3 separate regions of the Homo sapiens genome follow, and regions 1 and 2 are each linked to region 3. The links are contacts of gene promoters, found by promoter capture Hi-C in human tissues and cell types (Jung and others, 2019). All regions are on one chromosome and are shown on one strand. The core of a region is centred on a gene start or on the middle of the fragment in contact, and the rest is flanking DNA. Distances in the headings are between cores, read along the strand shown.

Region 1 (4,231 bases), core at 1,200-3,699, 34 kb after region 3:
AAGGAAAGGATACTTTCAGGCTTAGAGTTAGTCTTTTTTGTTGGAAATTTTCACAACTTCAGAAAAACTTCATCAACAGGTTTAGAAGCATCCGTTTTATTGACTTTCCCGATTTCTTCGTATGAGTCAGTAATTGTTTTTGTTAACTTGAAGATGGGTCTGAATTCTCTTTTCCAAGCTCTCTCTGCTGGCTTCACTCTTACCACTGTTCCCTCCTCTCAAGACATCCTTTCATGTAGATCTCATTATTATGGTCAGAAAACAGAACCAGATGCACATCTGCCTTTCCCATCCATGCTCTTGGCCCAACCTTGAAGGTTGTCTTGATTTCTTAGAAACTCATCAAGAATTTATTCTTAGCATTGGCAGCCATTGTCTGATCCATTTCCCATGTGAATAAATGCATGTATGGTTATTTCATCTAGCACAGTCTTCCCTTGTTTAGTATAGTTTTTGAAGAGTTCACCACTGTGAATCTGGGTTCTTTCATCACAGAGAAGTTTTCCTGAAGACAGGTGTATGTGACCAGGGTCACGACGGTGTGGGTTTGCTGCGTCCCCTTGCCAGTGCCAGGACCCCTGAGGAACCACAGGACCAGTGGGCAGCTTCATGAGGCCGGGGCCGCAGAGGAGATGCAGGCAGCCAGTCAGCAGCAGGAAGCTGAGGCCTAGGGCACGCAGTGGCCAGCAGCAGGCTGGCTCCCTCTTTGGGAGGTTAAATCAAGTTTTGGTTACCAAAGGCAAAGCAGGCTTGGATTTTGTTTAAGGAGATGCTGTTGAATGAAACAGCTTCTTTGTAGCAAGCAGCCTTGGAGATGATTAATGGAACATGTCTGAACTTGCCAGAGTGATGTTCAGCCTTCCAGTGGAACTGCAAAATCATGAGTGAAAGCGTGGCAAAGTATTTTCTTTAATGTAAAATGTTATTCCTAAGAAATGAAATTACGTGGCCGGGCACGGTGGCTCACGCCTGTAATCCCAGCACTTTGGGAGGCCGAGATGGGCGGATCACGAGGTCAGGAGATCGAGACCATCCTGGCTAACATGGTGAAACCCCGTCTCTACTAAAAATACAAAAAATTAGCCGGGCGTGGTGGCGGGCGCCTGTAGTCCCAGCTACTCAGGAGGCTGAGGCAGGAGAATGGCCTGAACCCGGGAGGCGGAGCTTGCAGTGAGCGGAGATCGCGCCACTGCACTCCAACCTGGGTGACACAGTGAGATTCCGTCTCAAAAAAAAAAAAGAAATGAAATTACGTAAAGCAAGTGCTAAAGTACAACAAGAACAGGAGTTTATGTTTTGAAGAAAATTGGTTGAGTTTTATTTTGGTTAAACCTCTAAAGCACCGTTTCAGAAAGCTTTTTTTTTTCTTTTTGTGTCACTGCTTTCCTGGGGCCACCGCACAGCAGAGGTGTCTGAGAACAGAGTTGCAGGTGGATGGCTGCGGTCTCCAGTCCCCAGGTGTGGGGTCTCCAGGGCTCTGGCCAGAACATCTTTCTTTGGGAGCAAGTCATTGCGAGGTGCCGTCTCAGCTGGGGTCTGGGTCTGAATCTGACGATTGTGTATTGGTTCGCGTGGCTCCATTCAGCTCCACACTTGTGTGTTTCACATGTACCTGGATTTCTTCAGTGATGTTTATACCTGTATACTTTATATAATAAAAGCAGCCATTTTAGAAGGTACAGTAGGATGAGTTTGACAGTTTTGATACCCCAGGTATTAAGCACCAGCTTGACACAGACATTTCCATCACCGCAGAATGCCCATTTGTAACCAGAACCCTCCACTGCCCCAAGCACTGCCAGCCCACTTTCTGTTATTGTGGATTAGTTTTGCTTATTTTAGAATTTCATATGAATGGAATTTGTAGTCTTTTTTTTTTTTTTTCTTGAGACGGAGCCTTGCTGGAGTGCAGTGGCGCGATCTCAGCTCACTGCAGCCTCCGCCTCCCGGGTTCAAGTGATTCTTCTGCCCTAGCCTCCCGAGTAGCTGGGATTACGGGTGCCCACCACCACGCCTGGCTAATTTTTGTATTTTCAAGTAGAGACAGGGTTTTACCATATTGACTGGGCTGGTCTTGAACTCCTGACCGCATGATCTGCCCACCTCATCCTCCCAAAGTGCTGAGATTACAGGCGTGAGCCACTGCGCCTGGCCTGGAATTTGTAGTCTTTTGAGTCTGACATACTACTTTAATTTTATTGAGGTAAGACTCGGCCGGGCGCGGTGGCTCACGCCTGTAATCCCAGCACTTTGGGAGGCCGAGGCGGGCGGATCACGAGGTCAGGAGATCGAGACCATCCCGGCTAAAACGGTGAAACCCCGTCTCTACTAAAAATACAAAAAATTAGCCGGGCGTAGTGGCGGGCGCCTGTAGTCCCAGCTACTTGGGAGGCTGAGGCAGGAGAATGGCGTGAACCCGGGAGGCGGAGCTTGCAGTGAGCCGAGATTGCGCCACTGCACTCCAGCCTGGGCGACAGAGCGAGACTCCGTCTCAAAAAAAAAAAAAAAAAAAAGACTCACATAACGAACACCCCACCACTCTGACCATTTGAATGTGTACAATTCCATGGCCTGTAGCACATTTACAACTTTGTGCAACTAGCACCATTATGTCTATTCCAGGATATTTCTGTTCCCCCCGAAGGAAGCGCTCCACTTCTCCGCAGCTCTTCAGCCACTGTTGACTCTGTGCCACTGTGGATCTGTCTATTTTGGAGACTTCCTAGGAATGAGTTCATATAATATATGGCCTTTAGTGTCCGGCTTCTTTCACATAACGTGTTTTTGGAGTCCATCTATGTTGTATGTCTTGGAACTGTATTCCTGTTTACTTGTGAATAATGCTGCATTGTCTGGGTGTAGGCAGGGTGTTTACCCATCCTGTCTTGATTGACACTTGGCTTGTTTCCATCTTTTTTTTTTTTTTTTGAAACGGAGTCTTGCTCTGTCACCCAGCCTGGAGTGGCGTGATCTCGGCTTGCTGCAACCTCCGCCTCCCGGGTTCAAGTGATTCTCCTGCCTCAGCCTCCCGAGTAGCTGGCATTACTGGCACATGCCACCACGCTCGGCTAATTTTCTATTTTTAGTAGAGACAGGGTTTTTCCATGTTGGTTAGGCTGGTCTCGAACTCCTGACCTCAAGTGGTCTGCCTGTCTTGCCCTCCCGAAGTGCTGGGATTACAGGCATGAGCCAGCTTGCCTGGCCCCCGTTTCCACCCCCCCTTTTTTTTTTGGGACCGAATCTTGTTCTGTTGCCCAGGCTGGAGTATAGTGGCACAATCTCGGTTCACTGCAACATCCGCCTCCTGGGTTCAAATGATTCTCCTGCCTTAGCCTCCCGGGTAGCTGGGACTACAGGTGCACGCCACCACACCAGACTACTTTTTGTATTTTTCAGTAGAGACAGGATTTCAGCATGTTGGCCAGGCTGGTCTCAAACTCCTGACCTCAGGTGATTGGCCAGCTTCAGCCTCTCAAAAGTGCTGGGATTAGAGGTGTGAGCCACCACGCCCTACCTGTTTCCACCTTTCTGTTTTCAATAGTGCTGTGAGCATGTGTGCACAGGTTTCCATTTGAACACTTTTTGGGCATATACCAAGGAGTGGAATTGCTGTGTTATATCATAGTTCTGTGTTTACCTTTTGAGGAATTGCCAAAGTATTTCAACAACAGCTGCACCATTTTACATTCCTACCAGATAGGTCAAAATGTACAGCCCCAATTCTTTGAGAATTGAGTCTGCGGCACTCTTTTGTACCAGCAATGGGGGCTGCTGTCTCCAAGGATGAGGTGTGTGAGCAGGTAAGTTCCTCTCCACAGCTCTCTCCTGCCCAAATCGAGCAGCTTTTTCATTAGGCGTTCTCTGCTTGTTAGAAGTTTTTTATTAGACTCCACAGTTCTGAAGAGTTGATTCTGACAGTTTTTGCAGCTTACTCATGCAGTGTTGGAAGGAGTGAGTTTTGGGGCTGTTTTCAGTGACATCCCCACCTGGTGTGTTTTGAGGTTTGTCCATGATGTGGTGCGTGTAGCTCCTGTGTGGTTTTTCTTACTGAGTAGCTTATATAGCTATGTGGGCTCTGCACTGCTGCCACAGCACTTAAGGGGAGATAGCATGAGGAACCCTAACAGCACCCATGGGAGCAGCTTGAGGAACCCTAGAAGCACCCAGGGAAGCAGCTTGAGGAACGCTAGAAGCACCCAGGGGAGCAGCTTGAGGAAGCCTAACAGCACCC
Region 2 (4,214 bases), core at 1,484-3,983, 56 kb after region 3:
CCCCTTGGACATCTGGTGAGTGGGCTCTTGGGAGAGATGTCAGGTTGGAGAGAGCTCTGGAGGACTGTCTCTGGAGGACTGTTTGCTCAGGGGAGATGGTGGCATGCTGGGAAGTGAGGGGCTGCTCAGTGAGAGAGTGGGAGGCACAGAAGAGCAGAAAGAAGAAGAGGTGAATGAGGAGAGAGGAAGTAGGGGTGTGGAGGAGTCAGTGGGAGGCGGGAAGAGCCAGCCTGTTTGCTGCACTGGTTTGGGAACATTAGAGTGAAGAAAACAGATGTTGGGGCAAACAATACAGTCTTTCACTTTTTGGTATTTTTTTGGTGGCTTTTTAAAAAATTCTCTGTCATATTAGCATATTAGCATCATGCTTGGTTCATGGAATGAGAGGCCACTGTTGTTGGCCCTCTTCATAAGTGGACGTTCCTTCTCCATTTCCAGGTTAGAAGGTGTGTGCTGCGCTTTCAGTGATGGATCTGTTCGCTTCGTTCCCTTCCCTGTTGTGAAAATGGTCACACACAGGCTGATGCCGTTTGGGTGTGTGTTGTCGTTTTCTTCTGTGACATCTCCTTCCTCGTATGTCACTTTTTAGGATATTGGGGACAAATGTTCTAAATTCATCAACTTTGACCATCTTTTGTTTAAAGGAAACTACTTTGAGTTTCCTACTTTTCTCTCTTTTTAAAAGATGTGGTTGATAAATGTATATTAAATTTTATTCAGTTAGCTTAAGAAAGTAGATAAGTTTATTGAAGAGCAAAACACAAAGCTTCGGCAATACCATTGTCCAACCTTCAGGGGTCTCTAACAGTTCTCTAGTTATTAATTCCCTCACAGTTACCTCAGGGGATTAGAATAACTTTATTAAAACAAAAATATAGTAAAAGTTTTTTGGTTTTTCGCGTGTCCTCCGTTGACTTGTCAGTGTTGAGAGTTACTTTTTATTTTGTATCTGAAGGAGCAGCTTAGAGGAATAGTTATTCCAGGAAGAAGAGCTCTGATGGCTGATGCCCCTGCGTCTTCATTTCCGCCTGCTTCAGTCCTGCTCTTGCGGAACAGCCGTCCTGTTTGCTATGTCCCAACACCCAAGGCAGACGTCGCTTGAGGCTCTTGTATAATACTTGCTGTTAGAGACAGTGGTCTTTTCTGCTTGAATCTCTTGTTGATGAATGTCATCTGTCAGGAGAAACTTGGATTATCTTTTTTTTTTTGAGACCGAGTCTCACTCTGTTGCCCAGGCTGGAGTGCAGTGGCATGATCTTGGCTCACTGTAACCTCCATCTCCTGGGTTTAAGCAATTCTCGTGCCTCAGCCTCCCACGTAGCTGGGACTACAGGTTCTGAGCCATCACGCCCAGCTCATTTTTGTATTGTTAGTACAGATAGGTTTCACCGAGTTGGCCAGGCTGGTCTCGAACTCCTGACCTCAGGTGATCCACCCATCTCCGTCTCCTAAAGTGCTGGGATTACAGGCATGAGCCACTGTGCCCGGCCGAATTATCATGTTTTAATAGAAGAAAATTTTAGTCTACTTTCCCAAATGGGGAATCTTTCCTTTTGCTGGGGGGTCTGCAGTCATATTGTTGGAAGAATGTGTGACCCTGCAAAACCCTCTGCTCTCAGCAGCACCTGCTGGGCTGGTGGGCGTGCTCAGCACAGCTCCAGGACACAACTGGCTGTTCTTGAAACTTGCGGTGATTTAGAGGTGATGGGCGGCACCAGCACATTGAACTGAATGCAGAAGTTGAAGTGAAAAAGGCTTCCTGTTCCTTGAGCGAACAGACCGAAAGCGTGTGTGTGTGTGTGTGTGTGTGTGTGTGTGTGTGTGTGAAGAGCTGGTGGCTGTGGGTGCGTCAGTTGGTCTGTTCCTTGAGTGGACAGTCAGTTGGTCTTGGACTCCCAGCAGGACAGAACGAAAGTACGTCTGCGTGTGAATGTGTCTGGAATTGGTTCCTTCCGGTGGGTTCTCGGTCTCGCTGACTTCAAGAATGAAGCTGTGGACCCTCGCGGTGAGTGTCACAGTTCTTAAAGATGGTGTGTCCGGAGTTTGTTCCTTCAGATTTTCAGATGTGTCTGGAGTGTTTTCCTTCTGGTGGGTTCGTGGTCTCGCTGACTTCAGGAGTGAAGCTGCAGACCTTCGCGCTGAGGGTTACAGCTCATAAAGGTAGTACAGACCCAAAGAGTGAGCAGCAGCAAGATTTATTGTGAAGAGTGAAAGAACACAGCTCCCACAGCATGGAAGGGGACCCCAGTGGGTTGCTGCTGCTGGCTCATGTGGCCAGCTTTTATTCCCTTATTCGGCCCTGCCCACGTACTGCTGATTGGTCCATTTACAGAGCGCTGATTGGGCCATTTTACAGAGTGCTGATTGGTCCATTTTTACAGAATGCTGATTGGTTAGTTTATAAACCTTTAGCTAGACACAGAGTGCTGATTGGTGCGTTTTTACAGAGTGCTGATTGGTGAGTTTAGAAACCTTTAGCTAGACAGCGCTGATTGATGCATTTGTACAGAGTGCTGATTGGTGCATTTACAGACCTTTAGCTAGACAGAAGAGTTTTCCAAGTCCCCACCCGACCCAGAAGCCCAGCTGGCTTCACCTCTCATGAAGAGCTGGTGGCTGTGGGTGTATCAGTTGGTCTTGGGCTCCCAGCAGTTGAGTGTTCACACCTGGGCCTGCGCCCTGCTTCACCTAGCCATCCGCATGGACACTTCAGTTTGTCGTGGGTTTTCTTGTGCCTTGGTGCAGTCTCACCAGTTAGAGCATAACTTCCTCAGGGCAAGGCTGCCCCAGACAGCCAGTGTCCTCGCCGCGTCTCCATCCAGTGCTTTCCTGTCTTTGTTATTAGATGCTCATCAAACATGAGGCCACTACAAACTAGAAGACCTTGGCTAGAGTCCTGAGACCTTGTGTGTGTGGTGTGGCTGTGTGAGTCTCTGCCCATCCCACACGCCACTCTTTAATAAGAGCAGATTTTGGACCTCAGGAGACATCTGTTGTGGAATTTATAGGCATGGATTGTCGGGCCAGCTTTCCTTCTGCTGATTAGCTGCTGACCAGCCGCATGCTTCTGCAGCCTTACTGTGACAGGTGGGGCTCAGGTGGCCTGGGCAGGGGTGAGGCACAGGACTGCGCGGTGCTGCTCCTCCTGGCTGCAGCGACTTCGCTGGATTCTCTCATTTTTATGGCTTTCTTTCTCAGACTAGGTCTTTCCGACTTGCGTGGAGAAGAAGAGTATGAGAATTCTCAAGTTAGAGAAGAATTGCTTTATGGTCATTATTTCGACAACTGTATGACTGGGAGTTTGGGTGAGGAAGGGCTAGATCAGTGATTTTTTTTTAAATTAGATTTACTTGGAAAACATTAAAAAAATTGCAGTTCACCCCCAGACACACAGAATCCATAGTGTCTTGAGGAGGTGAGTGTGTGTAGGGTGCACCATGGGTGAGTGGCATCTTGGAGGCACTGGGGTGCTGCTGCCGTATGGCCCTTCTCTTGGTCCTGTTTGCATTTGGGGCCTGTTGTTTATTTCTAGTGGGTGGTGCAGGCCAGGCAGGGTAGGTGGGCATCCTCCCTTCTCTGTAGGTGACACACTAGGGGCATCTTCTCAGAGTAACCAGCTGGGAGCTGGAAACTTCTGTATTTAGAAGCCAGTGTCCATGTCCCCTTCTCCCTTATAGTGTGGTTAAACAATCAAATGTTAATACCAGATGTCGATGTAGCTGTTTTCTCAGGAGTTCTTGGATTCTGAGGCAGAGAGCAGCCCCTTTTCTCTCCACAGTGGGGCTCTGGGGCTGGAGAAGGTGGCGTGCCCAGTCCCCGCGTCCAAGCCCGTTGCTTCTCTCTTACTCTCGTGAAGGTGGCGTGCCCAGCCCTGCTGCGTCCAAGCCCGTTCCTTCTCTCTTACTCTCGTGAAGGTGGCGTGCCCAGCCCTGCTGCGTCCAAGCCCGTTCCTTCTCTCTTACTCTCGTGAAGGTGGCGTGCCCAGCCCTGCTGCGTCCAAGCCCGTTCCTTCTCTCTTACTCTGGTGAAGGTGGTGTGCCCAGCCCCCACGTCCAACCCTGTTCTTCTCTGTTGCGCTCCTGCTGCTCCTTTAGGGAGGCCTTTTAGTGTTGCTGGAGCTGGGACTGGTGGCCAACGCCGTGTCTCTGTTCTGAATAGTATGTTTGAAAGCCTGTCGGTGGTAGTGAGGTGCAAAGAAAAAGGAGTCTGAACTT
Region 3 (4,130 bases), core at 11-2,510:
GCACTGCACTCCAGCATGGGCGACAGAGTGAGACCCTGACTCAAAAAAAAAAAAAAAAAAGAATAGGTGCTACTTGTAGTTCCCATTTTACCCACCAAGAAACTGAAGATCTGAGAGACAAAGCCTACAGGGTGACCGCTAGTCACTGGTAGGGCTGGGATTTGAACAGGGGCGGTTTAACAACTGATCTCTCGACCATAATGCGTGTTGCCCAAGAAAAAAGACCGTCCTCACGGTCCTATCCACTCCGGACTTTGCAATTCCGTTATTTCGTAAATTGAGGCCTATAAATAGTTTGCTTACCCGTTGTCTTAGTCCCCAGTAACATGCAGAACTAAAGAAGAAACTGAAGGAGCACCGATTTTGTTCACCTTGCTTTTTGGTTTAGTTCTGGAGGAGAACACAGGTGCACTTAGAACAGGATCCACACTTACCAGAGGCTTGATTCATTTTAGCTGCAAAGAAAACCAGTCCTCGTCTACCTTTTTCGCGTGTTGGAGAACTAACTAGCAAGGCAGGGAATGCGGTTCGTGGGCGCTTGGCCTCCTCAAGCGGCTCAGGCTCTCAGAGCGCGAGGCCCAGGGGCTCTGGAGCCGCGGCCGCGACGCGCCCGAGGGCCGTTCTCTTCGACGGCAGAGCAAGAGTCACCGCGCGGGAGCCCCGAGCGACCGCCCCGCTGCCCCGGTACCCTCCCCTCGCAGCCGCCCAGAGCTCTTCATGCCCCGTGACGCCCGTTAGGGCAGCGCGGCCGGAGGCCGGGCCGGACGTGGCCCGAGATGTCCGGGGGCAGGCAGAAGACCACGGGCACGCGACAGGCAACCGCCGCCTCGGCTCTAGAGGTGGACGTTTTGTCTCCCTGCGCTTCAATACCAGATTTTGTTTCCAGACGACATCCCTGTTGCTTCCGGCACTTGGAAAGACCAATCGTCAGGCCCGAGAATGCAAGACCCACCCTCCTTTGCGACGGAGGCAGCCAATCCAGTTGCTCGCTACTTCCAGTGTCGCATGCGCCCTTACGCAGGACCCTGCCCAATCGTTACCGGGACGTCCTCCTAGTCCCGCCTCCGGACCGCCAGAGAGGCTGTCAATCCCGCCTCTCTCCTTCACTCCATTAGCGCACTAACTCACGGCGCTGTGACGTGCACAGCCCCTGCGGCCGGCCGGGGCGGGCCAATGGCGGTGGCGGATACGGCGGGCCAATGGGCGGGAGCGTCTCATGCGGCCGGCTCCCGCCGCAGCCGCCGCTGGGTCCTGGAGCCAGAGGCCGCCCTGAGACGGTGCGCGATGGACCGAGGGCCCCAGCCGGGGAGGCGCCGCCGCCGAGCCCGCGGCCAGACGCCCCATCAGTAGCGTCCGCACCGGGAGCCGCGGCTCTCGCCCGAGCCGTGGGCGCGCCCGAGGGGCGGGCTCGCCTCCCGCCGTCCCTCGCAGCTCTGCCGGGCCCGAGCCCGCGCCGCCGCCGCCGCCGCCTTGCCGCTCGGGCCGCGCGGCCCGGGAAACGCGGCCGCGGGCTGCATGGGCAGCGCCCGCGCCCCGCCGCTGAGCCGTCGCGGAGCCGCGCAGCCCTCGGAGCACGGTGAGAGGCGCCGCTGGTCTGGGGGCGGTGGTCGGGGCGGGCACGGGGCATTCGCGCGGCCTTGCGGCCTGCAGGCCTTCCCCGGCGACGGAGCTGCGCCGCGGGCCTCCGGGCGGGCCTGGGGGGTCGGGGCCGGGTGGGCGGGGGTCTTTGGGGGCCCGGGGCGATCGTGAGGGACCAATAATGGGTCCCGGAGCGGGCCTACGGGTCCGGGTTCGGGGCAGCCGGGGGTCTTTGGGGGCCCGGGGTGGCCGTGAGGGGCCCATAGGGGGCTCCGGGGGGGGCCTGGGAGGTCGGCGGAGCTTGGGTCGGCCGTAAGGGGCGGACGGGGGCTCCGGGCGGGCCTGGGTGGCCGGGGGCCCGCGGCGGCTCTGAGGGGCCGATTGGGGGCTCCGGGGCGGGCCTGGGGGCCGTGGGGGCCCGGGGCGGCCGTGAGAGGCGGACAGGGGGCTCCGGGGCGGGCCTCGGGGGCTCGGAGCGGCCGTGAGGGGCGGACGGGGGGCTTCGGGGCGGGCCTGCAGGTCTTGGGGACCTGAGGCTGCCGGGAGGGGCTGCCAGGGGGCGCTGGCCGGGCGCCGGGTTCTGCGGAGCTGGGGCGCCGACCTCTGACCCGCGAGAGGGGCGCCTTCGCCGTGCTGGTCGTAGTTGTTATTCTCAGCGTCCCTATTATTATCGCTGTTTTGAAATGAGAGCAGGCGGCTCTCGGGCTCCGAGCCGGAGGGGGAGGGCGAACTGGGGACCTGGGGGCGTCGGGGTTGCAGGAGGCGCGCGTAGGCCGAGGAGGGGCAGGAATGCGGGCAGCCGTGTGGGGGGTGTTAGGGGGAGGGTAGGCGGGCGGGTGTGGGGGGTGGCTGGGAGGAAAGCGGTGGCGGTGGCGGCTGCAACAGCAGCCCTTGGCCTCAAGGAACAATGTGAGACGTTGCCTGAAATGTTAATTTCCGTTCCTCATTTCATCATCCCCTGGCAGGGCGGTAGCTGTGTGTGTGGTGTATGTGTGTGCGCGCGCGCGCGCGCGCGCGTGTGTGTGTGTGTGTAGGGTTGGCCCTGCCACATTGATTCAGTCCCCTCTCAAAGAGGGATTGTACTGTTAACTCTTGTGTTTGTGTTATTTGGGAAGGTTGGTCGGGGGGAGTCTTGATTTTTCTCGAGGCTTGCTCTTTTCCTGGTGCCCCATTAAGATTTTCTGCTTCTGTTGTGTTTTTGGAAGGTTAGTGTTATATATCAGCTTCCAAGAAGTTTTGGAAGAGGCTTGGGAAGATGAAGCTGGTCTAACAGCTCCCTATGCTTTGAAACTGTTTTCCTTCTATGTAACATGCTTAGGATTCATCGTTTTTGTAGATTATGAGTAGTTTTGTATCCTTTTGCAAGAACAGGGTTTTATGGTAGAGAAATTAGATTTCAGGCTTTCTTACATGAGGAGAGAGTTTTATGCAGTCATTAGAGCAATATCCTTAACACTTGAAATGAGAAATAAAAGTGTGCACAGTTGTTGAACTGCAAAACTTAGAGAATCTTTTGATCCTTTTTGGGATGTTGAGACTTAGCCAAACATATAAGATGATATTACCTGTGGAAAAAGTGCCATCGAAACAGTTACTGTTTTTGTTGTGTGCAGACCTAGTCTATGGCATAACGTTCAAAATCGGAGACCCTGAGGCTGTTTCTTTGGTTTCTCTGAGACCTTGATTTCTCTTAGTAAGTATTGGCTGCCCTGGAAGACTTCGAGTTCTGTTAGAGAATGATTACAGAAGTCCTCTGATTTTACTCTGCAACTGTAGTTAAACTAGAAAAAAAGGGGGGGGGGCGGATGTCTTGCTCAGCCTTCATTGTGACCCTTGCATTGGATCTCGTATAGTTGGTGTGGCCTCCCCTACCCTCCATTCAGCTGTTGTTCTCCTCTTTCTGTAGTTTCTCCCCGAAGAGCAGGATCTCCTTCGATAGGCTGGCCATCTGAATGGAACTGGATGGGAGGGAACAAAGACCAAGTTGCTGTGACGTTTTCTCTGTTCTTCGTGATGCCTCTTAAGTTTGTTGAAAAGTTCCCCACAAGATAGTGCTAAATTTGACCTAAACTTGAAACTTTCAGCAGTTTTTTTCTTCTGTTCTATTTTTGCTGTAGTAAAATATACATAACACAATTTACCAGAATTTTGTTTTTAAAGGTGTCACCTTTAAAACCTGAGTTCCTCTTTTGCAGCTCTCATTTGCGTCAGCCTTCTGACTTGCATTGCCACCGCCAGATGCTTTTCTCCGGACTGGCCATGCTGGGCACCCCATACCAGCAGTGCCATCACACCCTCCCAGATGGGCTGTTGATGACGAGCGGCTGCCATGTTAGCGGTAATTACAGTGTTGATACGGTGGCAAGTAGAACTCCCTACAAATAGAGTGAAGGAAACTATGCTGTTTGTGTTGGACAGTATTTTTCCAAGAAGTTTTTGTGCCCCTTTTTATTTTATTTTATTTTTATTTTTTTGGAGTCTCGCTCTGTCGCCCAGGCTGGAGTGCAGTGGCGCAATCTTGGCTCATTGCAACCTCCGTCTCCTGGGGTTCA

Evidence for each region. Contacts are between HindIII fragments. The study calls those that stand out against the background at their distance.
Region 1: a contact is called between a fragment that was not itself captured here and the fragment with the promoter of ANKRD11 in region 3, in 2 of the 25 tissues and cell types used here (hippocampus and mesenchymal stem cells).
Region 2: a contact is called between a fragment that was not itself captured here and the fragment with the promoter of ANKRD11 in region 3, in 3 of the 25 tissues and cell types used here (mesenchymal stem cells, pancreas and spleen).

The regions. Positions count from the first base shown.
Region 1 is chr16:89,455,240-89,459,470 of GRCh38, reverse strand. All of the region lies in intron 1 of ANKRD11 (ankyrin repeat domain containing 11), which reads left to right. It also overlaps the pseudogene CMPK1P2. Among named protein-coding and RNA genes, the nearest start is that of ANKRD11, 33 kb to the left of the region's middle. RefSeq lists enhancers at 125-624, 625-1,126. The HindIII fragment of the contact is 8,928 bases long and covers 1-4,231 here.
Region 2 is chr16:89,433,409-89,437,622 of GRCh38, reverse strand. The region is part of intron 1 of ANKRD11 (ankyrin repeat domain containing 11); the gene reads left to right. The region is part of intron 1 of LOC101927817 (a long non-coding RNA gene); the gene reads right to left. Among named protein-coding and RNA genes, the nearest start is that of ANKRD11, 55 kb to the left of the region's middle. RefSeq lists an enhancer at 3,936-4,214. The HindIII fragment of the contact is 5,175 bases long and covers 146-4,214 here.
Region 3 is chr16:89,487,691-89,491,820 of GRCh38, reverse strand. It overlaps ANKRD11 (ankyrin repeat domain containing 11), which reads left to right and starts at 1,260. Exons shown (of 13, transcript NM_013275.6): 1 at 1,260-1,576. LOC101930112 (a long non-coding RNA gene) reads right to left here and starts at 851. Exons shown (of 2, transcript XR_933895.4): 1 at 435-851. RefSeq lists silencers at 541-590, 711-800, 1,001-1,480, 2,055-2,104, 2,185-2,294 and 1 more and enhancers at 1,686-2,200, 2,201-2,714, 3,304-3,373, 3,524-3,793, 3,572-4,072 and 1 more. The HindIII fragment of the contact is 15,043 bases long and covers 1-4,130 here.